Regions from separate parts of the Homo sapiens genome. Here regions 2 and 3 are each linked to region 1. The links are contacts of gene promoters, found by promoter capture Hi-C in human tissues and cell types (Jung and others, 2019). All regions are on one chromosome and are shown on one strand. Each heading gives the region's core, a stretch centred on a gene start or on the middle of the fragment in contact. The rest is flanking DNA. Distances are from core to core; before and after follow the strand shown. Region 1 holds the start of PBX3 (PBX homeobox 3). Region 2 has its middle 150 kb from the start of MVB12B. Region 3 overlaps MAPKAP1 (MAPK associated protein 1).

Region 1 (4,180 bases), core at 1,369-3,868:
GATTAGTCAAGATTATGAGTCTAGAAGGAGGGCAGAGAGGAGTCCTAATAGTGAGTCACAGGATTATTGAATTTTACAGCTGGAAGGAATCTTAGAATTTAAGGCATCTTTCAGTTAGAATTCTGTGGTTTTGCATCCTCAGCGTTGGAGAATTATGAAAGGTTGACCGCTTGCTCCTGCGCCTTTTGGCAAAAATGCTTAAGAATTTGGTGACAGCTTTAAAAAACAAATTAAGAATAAAGAAAAAACCCAATCAATGACGATTATAAGTAACCCATAATGGGGGCTTCAAAGAAGAATTGGAAACTTGACATATCAATGGGGTATAGAAGAGCAGAGAATATTAATGAACATGAAGGGGGTTCTTCTTTGGAGGTAAGTAAGCAGAGTGGATTTTTTGGAACTCCCTCCTCAGCAGCTGTGCAGTTTGTAAGGATTTTAGCTTGCCTAACTGTAAGCTTAGCTATTAGCTTTGCAGTGGGGAGTATTTAAAAGTACACACAACATATGAAGGAAAGAACCTGGAACCGAGTAGCCTGCTTCATTCCAAGAATCCATCTGGCATTTAAAGAACTGCTTGTCCTACATTAAACCCTGCAGAGTAAGAGCCATTTTTCATATCCTCATACCCCTATTTTTGGTTTCAGGTAAGACAGCTTACTGAGTTTGGAGAAGGAACAAAGAGACTTTTCCGAACCACCGAACCAAAGGACTCATCTAGGGTGAGCTCAATGAATCTAAAATCGGGAACACACATTGCAGCCCCTGTTTGGGAAATCAGCTTAAGAGCAATCTCAAGTCTCCACAAGAGGCGGAGGTCCATATTCCAAAATAATGTGAGCCTTCAGTTATTTGTAGGTAGAATTCAATGGAAGAAGGGGTGTTATAGATACGAAAAATCGTGGCTGGCGTTACCAACATTAAATGACTCGTGGTGATGGGGTAAGTTGACAAGTGAAATCCAGTCTCTTCCTAAACAAACGTATCTTTGTAATGAAGAGCTCGTTTTTGCAGCTTCAGTACATCTGGAGGCATCGAATAGCAAACGCTGCCAAAGGAGTAGTCCCTGGATTATCAGGAGTTGCAGAGTGTGTAAAGTGTTGTAAACCTTGAAATTAGTCCTGGACTGAAGGCACTTTCCCTCCTCCCAGACTCGCTTCTCTCTGACACATTTCCCCTTTCAATGGAAAGTCTATGGCAGTCAGGTCCACTCAGCTCAGACTTCAAGTATGTGAGACCACAGGTTCCCACCTTAACTGGTCACCCATTGAGGGACAGCACAAGACCCCGGTGCTGGCGCCAACGCTGAGCTGCGCCCTCTCGGTTACCATGGCGACCGCAGGCGGGGCGAGGCCCCCACTCGCCGCTTCCCCGCCTCTGCCCAGAACCTTTCGAACGCTCCAATTGGGACGACCCTTTCTTGCCTCTGTCCCGCCCCATTCGGCTCTAAGCGCTTTGCGATTGGCCCGGGACGAGCGGCCTGGTACCCAGAGGGCACCACCTCCTGACAGGAAGAGCGGGAAAGTGCACCAGGAGCTGTCCGAGGCGTGAAGCTCACGGGCGCGGCGGGGGAGCACACGGTTGGCTTTGCAGCGAGTTGCCCACTGTCCCATACACAACCCCCCGCTCCCATGACTGCCAAAAGCATGGAGCAGGAGTCGGGGTGCGGGCACACCGTTTGTGGGCCGGCCCGGTCTATCCCGGGGGGCTAGGACGCGACGAGGTTGGAGCGAGGATCCGGCGGCACACTCCGGAGCGCGGAGTATCAGAGGCCAGAGGGAACGGGCCGGGCCCCGGGGGCGGTGCCGGCGGCGGCGGCGGGAGGCGCAGAGCCCAATGAGCGCGCGCACCGCCCCGGGGGCGGGGTCTGAGGAGCGCTCCCCCGCCCTTGCCAGCCCCCGTCCCTCCCCCCGGCGCGGGGCCGCAGTGAGTGAGTGGCACTGGCAGCCTGTCAATCCCTCGGCCCAGCGGCCTTCCAGCCCGGTCCGCGGCGGCTGCTGGCTGGGTGCGCGGCTCCGGCGGCGGCGGCGGCGACTTCTCCCGCCCTATCCATCGGCTGTCCGCCCGGCGCGCGGCCCGCCGGGGCCCTCCTCCGGGCTCAGCGCCCCCGCCGCCTCTGCCCGCCCGCTCCCAAACTTTCCTCCTCCGCCCCCCCTCGCTCCCCGCGGCCCGCCCGCAGGCCTCCTCCTCCGCCGCCGCCCGCCGCCGCCGCCGCTGCCTCCCCCGGGGCCGCCGGGGCTCGGATCCCGCCTGGCCGAGGCGGCGGCGGCGGCCGAGGAGGGCAGTGCGCAGGCTGGCGCGGGGGGCGGCGGGCGTCCCGGCAACTCGGCGGGCGCTGAGGAGCAAGTTGCGCGGGGCCGCCCGGCGGGGCGCGCGGCGGCGAGGAGGCGGCGCGGCGGCCGCGTGAGGGCAGCGGGCGCCGCCGCCTCCGCCTCCGCCACCGCCGCGGAGCCCGGCGCTTCCGCCCGCCGCTTCTCCTCAGCCTCGGCGGCGGCGGAAGCCGGAGCCGGGCGCCCGTCCTCATCGCCTCAGCCGCGGGCCCTGCCGGCCGGGCCGCCCCCTCCCCGCGCGGGCGGGGAGCGCGCGGCCGCCTCCCCCTCCCCCTCCCCCTCTTTCTTCTCCTCCCTCGTCGCCGCCGCCGCCGCCGCCGCCTCAGCCTTCGCCTCAGCCGCCGCCCGCTCCCGCCCGCGCGCGGCGGGATGGACGATCAATCCAGGATGCTGCAGACTCTGGCCGGGGTGAACCTGGCTGGCCACTCGGTGCAGGGGGGCATGGCCCTGCCGCCTCCCCCGCACGGCCACGAAGGGGCGGACGGCGACGGCAGGAAGCAGGACATCGGCGACATCCTCCACCAGATCATGACCATCACCGACCAGAGCTTGGACGAGGCGCAAGCAAAGTTGGTGTCGTCTCATTAAGCATCTTTTGTGTGTGTGCGGGAGCCGGGCCCGCGGCCGAGTCGAGGCCCGGGGTGGCGCCCGGGGCTAGGGCCGCAGCCCCCGGCGGGGAACTTTCTCCGAAAGCCGGCCGCCCGCCCCGGCCTCGGGGGGACTTGCCCGCGCCCCCCGAAGCGGGCGGGAGTCGGCAAAGTTGCTCTGGGGGGCTCGGGACGGACTCGGTGCGGCGCGGATTCCGTGGCGTCCTTTCCCCCGTCCTGCCCCTCGCAGCCCGGCCCCCTCCCAGGGATTTAAACCTCCCGCCCCGACCCCGTGCGGGCCGCGCCGCCGGGAAGTGTAACTTTCTCCTCCGGCGGGGAGTCCCGGCGCCGGCTCCCGCGGCCGCGGGACGACCTCGCGATGCGGGCGGCCACCCGGGCCCGGCGCGGGGCGATGGGCGGTTCCCTGGCGGGTCCGGGTGCGGACGGCCAAGTTCTCGGAGAGGGAGGGCCGCCTTGCAAACTTTGCCGAGCTGTCACCCTCCCGCTGGCCGCAGTCGGCCGGCCTCCTCTGCACAGGAGCGGACGCGGGAGCCCCTCCGCACCCGTCCCCTCCCCCGGGTCGCCTTCGCCTGCCCCCGGGGCGAGGCTCCCCGCGCGGGTTCGCGTCGCGTCTGCAGTGGCCGAGGCTGCTGCCTGCCGGGCAGATGGGTCCGCCTTGTTCCGGCTGCAGCTTTCGCCGCCGGGGCTTGCTGGCTGTCGGGAACTAGTCAACTGGAGTTTTTGTTGACTTCCCACGGTTCAAAAGGGCCTTCCAGAATGGGGGGCTGGAATTAAATCTTGGGTCTAACTTAAAGGAAGGCGCCATATTATTCCATAGGTGATGCTAATACCTTTGTGTTTCGTTATTTGTTTTTTAGGAAACATGCCCTGAACTGTCACAGAATGAAACCAGCGCTCTTCAGCGTCCTGTGTGAGATCAAAGAGAAAACAGGTAAGACGCTGCGCCCCGCAGTGGGCCTGGAGACCCCCGAGGTGGGGGTCGGAGCTACTCCTTCGACTCTCCAGTTGAGAGCTGCTGCTTTTGGGCACCGCCATCTTTGATCATTCTCTCCTTCCCACGTCCTGATCTTGAGAAAAAACTGCAATAAATCTGGAGTCAATTTCTCAGTTCTGCTCCTGGTGTAAAATGAAGTGTAGGTGCGGACCGGGCTGGATCGCCGTCCCTCGGCGGCCGCCCCTGGCTGCAGGCGGGGAGGGGGCCCGGAGCGCCAGCCGCCCTCTTCCCTCTCCTTTCGCCTTGTT
Region 2 (4,180 bases), core at 922-3,421, 430 kb after region 1:
TTTTGACTATCCTTGTAATTCCATGTGAATTTTAGAACCCACTTGTCCACTTCTGAAAAAAATAAGGTAGCTGGGATTTTGTTAGAGATTGCATTGAAATTGTAGATCATTTTTGAGAGCATTGTCATCTTAACAATATTAAGTCTTCTGATCCATAAATGTGAGATCTTTCCATTTATTAAGATTGTCTTCAGTTTTTCAGCTGTGTTTTGTAGTTTTCAGTGTACAAGTCCTTCACTTTCTTGATTTAATTTATTCCTAAGTATTTTATTATTTTTGATGCTACTACAAATACAATTGTTTTGTTAATTTCATTTTTTTCGCATTATTCATTACTAGTGCATAGAAATACAATAAGTTTGTATATATTTATCATGTATCCTGCACCTTTGCAGAATTTGCTTATAGTTCTAAGTTTTGGTTAAGTTTTTTTGTTTTTTTAAGTTTTTTGGTTAAGTTCTAAGTTTTGGTTTAAGTTTTTTGGTTTGTTTGAGAATTATTTAGGGTGTTTTACATATAAGAACCTGCCATTTACAAATAGGATAGTTTTACTTCTTCCTTCTAATCTGGATGCCTTTTACTTCTCTTTCTTGACTAATTGCCCTGGCTAGAACCTCCACTACAATGCTGAATAGAAGTAGTGAGAGTGGACATCCTTTCTTGTTCCTGATCTTAGAGAGAGCAGTTTCAGTTTTTCTCCATTAAGCATGCTGTTAGTTGTGTGATTTTCATAAATGCTGTTTATCAGGTTGAGAAATTTTTCTTCTGTTCCTAGGTTGTTGAGTGCTTTTATCATGCAAGGGTGTTGGATTTCACTAAATTTTTTTTTAATCTATTGAGATGATCATATAGGGTCTTTCATTCTTGCTAATGTGGTGTATTATGTTGATTAATTTTTGCATGTTGAACCACCCTTGCATTACAGGGATAAACCTCACTTGGTGTTATGATGTACAATCCTTGTAATATGCTGCTGGATTCAATTTGCTAATATTTTATTAAGGATTTTTATATCTATATTCATAAAGGATATTGGTCTGTGGTTTTCTTGTGTTGTCTTTGTCTAGCTTTAGGATCAGGGTAATAGTGATCTCATGTGATAAGCTATAAAGTGTTTGCTTCTTTTCTGTTTTTTGGAAAAGTTTGAGAAATATTGGTGTTAATTCCTCTTTAAACATTTGGTAGAATTCATTAGGGAAGCCATCATCTGGTCCTGGACTTTGTTAGAAGTCTTCTGGTTACTGATTTAATCTCTTTTATTCTCATAGGTTTGCTTAGGTTTCTAGTTCATATTCAGTTAATTTTGATAGTTTCTGTGTTTTTAGGTATTTGTCTGTTTCATCTAGATTATCCAATTTGTTGGCATACAGCTGTTCATAGTATTCTCTTATAATCCTTTTTATTTCTACAAGGTCAGTAATGATATCCCACTTCATTCCTGGTTTTAATAACTGGAGTCTTCTCTCTTTTTTTCTTGACTAATCTAGCTAAGAATTTGCCAATTTTGTTGATCTGTTCAAAGGACTAACTTCTGATTTTCTCTATTGTTTTTCTATTCTCTATTTTATTTACCTCTGCTGTAATATTTTTCTCATTCTGCTTGCTTTGGCTTAATTTGCTCTTCTTTTTCTTTTCTTAAAGCATAAGCTTATTTTATTAATTTCATGTCTTTCTTCTTTTTAAATGTAGGTGTTTGCAGCTATAAATGTACCTCTGAGTATTACTTTTACTGCATCCCCTAAACTTTGGTATGTTGTATGTTTATTCTCATTTATTTCAAAGTGTTTTCTGATTTTGCTTGTGATTACTTCTTTGGCCCCTTGTTTATTTAGGACTATGTAGTTTAATTTCTACATATTTGTGAATTTTCCAAATTTCATTCTATTATTGGTTAGTAATTTCATTCCATGTGGTTAAAGAAGATACTTTGTATGATTTATATATTTTAAATATATTAAAACTTGTTTTGTGGCCTAACATGGTTTATCCTGGAGAATGTTCCATGGGTACTTGATAAGAATGTGTATTCTGCTATTGTTGGATGGAGTGTTCCATGGATGTCTGTTAAACCTAGTTGGCTTATAATGTTGTTCAGGTCCCCTATTTGCTTGCTGAACTTCTGTCTAGTTGTTGCATACATTATTGGCAGTGAAATATTGAAGTTTCCAGCTGCCACTAGTGAACTATCTATTTTCTCCCTTCAGTTCTGAAGCAGATACTGATTTGCTTTATGTATTTTGGGGCTCTGTTGTTAGATGCATATATGTTTATAATTGCAATACCTTTTTGATGGATTGGACCTTTTATCATTGTATAACGTCCTTCTTTGTGTTGTAAGAATTTTTGTCTCAAAGTCTATTTTGTCTCATATTAGTATAGTCACTCCAGCTCTGGTTACTTTTTGTATAGAATATCTTTTTGCATCCTTCTACTTTCAATATATTTGTATCTTTTAATCTAAAGTGAATCTCCTATACATGACACATAATTGGGTCATTTTTTTCAGCCATTGTGCTGTTCAATTGGAGGGTTTAATCCATTTACATTTCATGTAATTACTGATAAGGAATCACTTGCTTCTGTCATTTTGTGCCATTACAGCTTTATTTTATGTTGGATAGAGATGTTCTAAAGTACCATTTTAATTCCCTTGTCATTTCTTTTAATGTATATTTTTGAATTATTTTCTAAGTGTTCGTCCTGGGCGTTATAATTGACATGGTAATTTATAACAATCTGGCTTGGATTAATATCAACTTTCTCTCAATATTATGTAAAAACTTTGCTCCAATATAGCTTCATCTCCTTGCTTTATGTTGTAGTTGTCATGAATTATATCTTTCTTCAATGTTTGCCCATCAACAAAGATTTATAATGGCCATAACAAATCATTTATAATTATTATTTAATGCATTTGTCTTCTAAATCTTATAGAAAAATGAAGTTACAGAGAAAAAAACAATGGTACTGGCTTTTATATTTACCTATGTAAATCTATGTCTTTACCAGTTTTCTTAATTTCTTTGTATAGCTTTGGGTTACTGTCTAGTGTCCTTTCATTTCAGCTTAAAGGACTCCTGTTAATATTTCTTGTAGGGTAGGTCTACCAGCAATGAACTCTCTCAGCTTTTTTGTTTGTTTGTTCGTTTGTTTGTTTGTTTTAAATCTTGGGATGTCTTGATTTCTCCTTCATTTTTGCAGTATAATTTTGCTGAATACAGAATTTTTGATTAAGAGTTTTTTTCTCTCAGAACTTTAAATATTGCATCCTATTTCTTTCTAACCTCCATGGTTTCCGATGAGAAACTGGCTATTAATATTATTGAGGGTCCCTTGTATGTGACTAGTCACTTCTCTCTTGCCGCTTTCAGGATTCTCTCTCTGTCTTTGGCTTGAACAGTTCGTTTGGACAGTCTGTGTGGATCTCTTTAAGTTTATCTACTTGGATATTTTGATTTTCTTAAATGTGTAAATTCATGTTTTTCATCAAATTTGGGAAGTGTATTACCATTATTTCTTCAAAGGTCCTTTATTCCCCTTTCTCTCTCCTCTTCTAGGATTCCTATTATGCATATGTTGATATGTCTGATGGTGTCCCACAGATCTCTTGGGTTCTGTTCATTTATCTTCATTATTTTTTCTTTCAGTTCCTCAGACTGAATAACTTCAATGGACCTATCTTCAAATTTGATGATTCTTCCTTCTGCCTGTTCGAAAATGGTATGATCCCTCTATTTAATTTTTTATTACAGTTATTGTACTTTTTAACTCCAGAATTTCTGTTTGGTGCCTTTTTTAAATTCCTGTCTTTTTATTGGTATTTTCAGTTTGGAGAGACATTATTTGCCTGGTTTCCTTTAGCTCTTTGGTGATATCTAAAATAGCTTGTTCAAAGCCTGGATCTAGAAAGTCCAAGTCTGAGCTTCTGCAAGGGCAGTTTAGTTTCTCTTAATTGCTTTTCTCCCTATGTGTGAGCCATATGCTCTTGTTTCTTTGCACCCCCTTTCCTTTGCTTTCTGTGCACTGGATGCCCAGCCTTCTTTCCATTGTTCAGCTACATGTCTTCTCTCTTCAGAACCTTTGTCCATGCTGATCCTTTTTCCTGGAATGACTGCACGTACCCGCCCCCCTCCCAACCCCTTTACTAGTATCTTTTACCTCCTAAAGCCTCACGTTAAAA
Region 3 (4,180 bases), core at 1,121-3,620, 300 kb before region 1:
TTCCTGAAGTTAGAATTAGGATGAAATCCTAGCTCTGCCATGTTTCAGCTGTGGGACCTTGGCAAGGCACTGTCCCTTCCAAGGTTTGCCTGGCTGTAAAGGAGGGGATAGCATCTGTCAGTGATCTCTTATATGTCACATACATCCCTGCATATAGCAGGGAGGTGGTCATTCATTTAACTATGATGGAACTGGTATTTGATGATAAAATGCTAATTGCTTTGAAGATTGCATTTTTAATTGGGCCTCCTTTGAGCAGATTTGCTTTTATAGTGCTATGTAAATAAAATGCAATATAAGAGGGTATAAATGTGGCATCTAAGCACTGGTCACATGCTCAGGGCAGATACTGAAACTGTACCTCCACTCGTGAGTACTGAAGTGAAAATCTGGATATGTAGAACTGTATTTACACTTATGTAAGTTTTTCAAAGTAAGACAGAGAAGATAGAATTTAATACCAAGCAGAAACTAATTAGTGGCACAAATGTCAGAAGTGGAGACGTCCAGCTTTTGTGCTTTAATTCATCTTCTGTATTATGGATTCTAACTAAAACAGGAGGCTGTGCTGAAAAAACAGGTTCTTCCTGCCAGTTCAGGGGGCGTGGCCATGTTGGAAAGGCTGCTGTGGTCATGAGATGGGATGGCTTAAACATACATGAACAGCACTCACAACCCTGCTAAAAGAGGTGCTCCCAGACTTCCACTGCAAATCAACTGAAAGAAGGGTCTTTTTTTGATTTTCAATTTTTGCTCTTTTTTTTTTGAGATGGAGTCTCACTCTGTCACCCAGGCTGGAGTGCAGTGGTGACATCTCGGCTCACTGCAACCTCTGCCTGCTGGGTTCAAGCGATTCTCCTGCCTCAGCCTCCTGAGTAGCTGGTATTACAGGTACCCCCCACCATGCCCGGCTATCATTTTTTTTACTTTCCATCTGCCTTAAGAAAAGTCTCAAGGGAGGGTCTCTTCTAACACAACCTGCCAGTACTGACTGTGGCTGGCCATGACTGGTCAGAGCTGGAGCTGCCAGAATGAGCCTGCAGCCCACCTTTGCCTAAACCCCCAGGTGTCACCACTTGCCAAAAATATAAAAATAAACCTGTTTCTTTTCCTTATTAAAAATACTAGAAATTTAGAAGACAGAGGAGAACCTCCACACCCCACCCCAAAATCCCAACACTAGCACAATGCCATTCACGGTCTCTTTCCTAACCATTCTCGCCTGTTTTCACAGTTGTAATCAGATTGTATACTAGAAGTTGAGCTTAGTTTTTTTAAGTTAACATTTTACCATACCCCTTTCCCTGTTGCAACAATTTCTATAACCACCGTTTTCAATGGCTGCATCTTATTCCAACCAGTAGACGTGAGCTATGGGTCATGTTGCTATCTCTGTTGGGCTTCTGGGTTACTTATAAAATTGCCAGTACTATAAATAAGGCTACAAAGAACAGCTTTGAGGCTTGGGATTCTTTCTCAATTCCTTTACATCAGGCATGGATACTTTTTGAAAACTCAGTTTCCAAGGTCTGATGTCTTCTGGGCCCTCTGGCCTGAGAGGGGAACATTCTCACTGGATTTCTTGGGGGAAACCGATGGGAACACACATTGTTTTAGGCAAAGCTGTATCTTTCTGTAGGTCCTAGTAGGAAATGCTGGACTGGGGTTCTTTGGTCTCTGGGCTGAAAACTCCCTCCTGGTTGGGTCTCCTCTCCACCGTAAGCAACAGTTCTGGGCTGCCTGCAGGGAGCTTCAGCTCAAGGTAATTCAACTGGCAAAAGGGAGTGCTCCTTCCCAAGCACTCCTGCGTGGGCAGCGGCCTGGGCAACCATAGTAATGACCTCTTTGACCTCTAGAGCCGGGGATGTGCCTGACCTACTTACATTTCTGCCTGGATTCTCAAACTCCCTCTCTCTCTCTCTTTGGCTCCTTCCTGTAAACATAATTAAATCTCTAATTATAAAAACTCCCATGGCAATGTGATTTCCCTCCTTCCTCTCATGTATCGAAAACATTCTTGCTAAGGTCACTATGCCCTCAATGTCGAGAGATCCAGTAGAGATTTCTCAGCTGTTTTCGACACTTCTTAAAGTCCTGGCTTCCCTGGAGGCACGGTCACCTGATTCTTGGGTCCACGTCTCCAGTCATCTGTTTCTCACATTTCCTTTGTGATCTTCTGGACCTCCACCTGTCCCTTAAGCAATGGTCTTCCTGAGTTCTATCCTTGATCAGCACCTCCTCTAACTACGTTTTTCCTGTGTCGGGTTTGCCCTTGGGTTTTAGTTACTACTCACATGTTGGTGATCCTGAAGCAGCTATGTGGCCTATACCTTTCTCCAGAGTTTCAGAGCTGAGCAGTGGGTATGGCTGCCACCTCCACATGGCCCCCAGTGCAGCATGTCCAGAACAGACATCAGCATCTCCCCTTAAATTGGCAGTTGTGGTGGCACAACTGGAGGCTTCACCACGCACCAAGTACTGGGCATTTGGTCTCCTAGTTTTCACGTTTATCTTCCGTCCCTCTCTATCCTGGGACCACAGCCCTCACCCAGGTCCTGATCATCTATTGCTTTTTCTCTGGTTTTCCTTCTTTTGATCATGTCTTCTGCAGATTCAAACATCTACTCACAGGAGTTTTTTTTTTTTTTTTTTTGAGGCAGAGTCTCGCTCTATCCCCCAGGGTGGAGCGCAGTGGCGCGATCTCAGCTCACTGCAACCTCCGCCTCCCAAGTTCAAGCCATTCTCCTGCCTCAGCCTCCAGAGTAGCTGGGATTACAGGCGCCTGCCACCACGCCAGGCTAATTTTTGTATTTTTAGTAGAGACGGGGTTTCGCCATGTTGGTCAGGCTGGTCTTGAACTCCTGACCTTGGGTGATCTGCCCGCCTTGGCCTCCTGAAGTGCTGGGATTACAGGCATGAGCCACCGCACCAGCCCGTTTTTTTGAGACAGAGTCTTCCTCTGTCACTCAGCTGGAGTGCAGTGCTGCGATCTGGGCTCACTGCAATCTCTGTCTCCTGAGTTTGAGTGATCCTCCCACCTCAGCCTCCCAAGTAGCTGGGATTACAGGCGTGCGCCACCACGCCGAGCTAATTTTTGAAATTTTTGTGGAGATGGGGTTTTGCCATGTTGGCTAGGCTAGTCTCGAACTCCTGGCCTCAAGTGATCTGCATACCTCGGCCTCTCAAAGTGCTGGGATGACAGGCGTGAGCCACTACGCCTGGCCAGGAGTCATTCTTTTAAAACATACCATCTGGACCCCCTACTTAAAACTCTGCAGTGCTTCTTTTCCTGTCATCCTCAGAATAAAGTCCAAGCTTCATAAGATGATTTTCAAGACCCCAGATCAGCAGTTCTCAAACTTTTTGGTCTCAGAAGCCCTTAATACTCTTAAACACTATTGAGGAGTCCAAAAAGCTTATGTGGATTATACCTATCAACATTTATTGTGTTAGAAATTCGGCCAGGTGTGGTGGCTCACGCCTGTAATCCCAGCACTTTGGGAGGCCAGGAGTTTGAGACCAGCCTGGCCAACATGGAGAAACCCTGTCTCTACTAAAAATACAAAAACTAGCCGGGTGTGGTGGTGTGTGCCTGAGGCTGGGCTGGGAGGCTGAGGCACGAGAATTTTGAACCTGGGAAGTGGAGGTTGCAGTAAGGCGGAATCATGTCACTGGCCACTGTACTCCAGCGTGGGTAACACAGCGGGACTCTGTCTCAAAAACAAACAAACAAACAAAAAAAGAAAATAAATGAAATTAAAACTGAGAAATTAAAAAATATATATTAACTCACTAAAATAATACACCCATTACAAATTAACATATTTTAAAATGGAAAAACCCTTATATCTCCCCAAAGTTAAATAAGAGTGGCATTATTTATTTATTTATTTATTTTTCTGAGACAGAGTCTCACTCTGTTGCCCAGGCTAGAGTGCAGTGGCATGATCTTGACTCACTGCAACCTCCACCTCCTGGGTTCAAGCAATTCTCCTGCCTCAGCCTTCTGAGTAGCTGGGCTACAGGGGTGCAACACCAGGCCTGGCTAATTTTTGTATTTTTAGTAGAGACAATAGAGATGGAGTTTCGCCATGCTGGCAAGGCTGGTCTCGTACTCCTGACCTCAGATGATCTATCTGCCTCGGCCTCTCAAAGTGTTGGGATTACAGGCGTGAGCCTC

Evidence for each region. Contacts are between HindIII fragments. The study calls those that stand out against the background at their distance.
Region 2: a fragment that was not itself captured here is called in contact with the fragment with the promoter of PBX3 in region 1 in 1 of the 25 tissues and cell types used here (lymphoblastoid cells).
Region 3: a fragment that was not itself captured here is called in contact with the fragment with the promoter of PBX3 in region 1 in 1 of the 25 tissues and cell types used here (mesendoderm cells).

Annotation. Positions count from the first base shown.
Region 1 is chr9:125,744,755-125,748,934 of GRCh38, forward strand. It overlaps PBX3 (PBX homeobox 3), which reads left to right and starts at 2,619. Exons shown (of 9, transcript NM_006195.6): 1 at 2,619-2,899; 2 at 3,796-3,869. The coding sequence starts at 2,700. It overlaps PBX3-DT (PBX3 divergent transcript), which reads right to left and starts at 1,175. Exons shown (of 2, transcript NR_122032.1): 1 at 662-1,175. RefSeq lists silencers at 1,714-2,143, 2,394-2,443, 2,454-2,983, 3,254-3,593. The HindIII fragment of the contact is 5,465 bases long and covers 1-4,180 here.
Region 2 is chr9:126,177,736-126,181,915 of GRCh38, forward strand. No RefSeq gene overlaps it. Among named protein-coding and RNA genes, the nearest start is that of MVB12B, 150 kb to the right of the region's middle. The HindIII fragment of the contact is 3,220 bases long and covers 562-3,781 here.
Region 3 is chr9:125,449,175-125,453,354 of GRCh38, forward strand. All of the region lies in intron 10 of MAPKAP1 (MAPK associated protein 1), which reads right to left. Among named protein-coding and RNA genes, the nearest start is that of GAPVD1, 190 kb to the left of the region's middle. The HindIII fragment of the contact is 3,861 bases long and covers 441-4,180 here.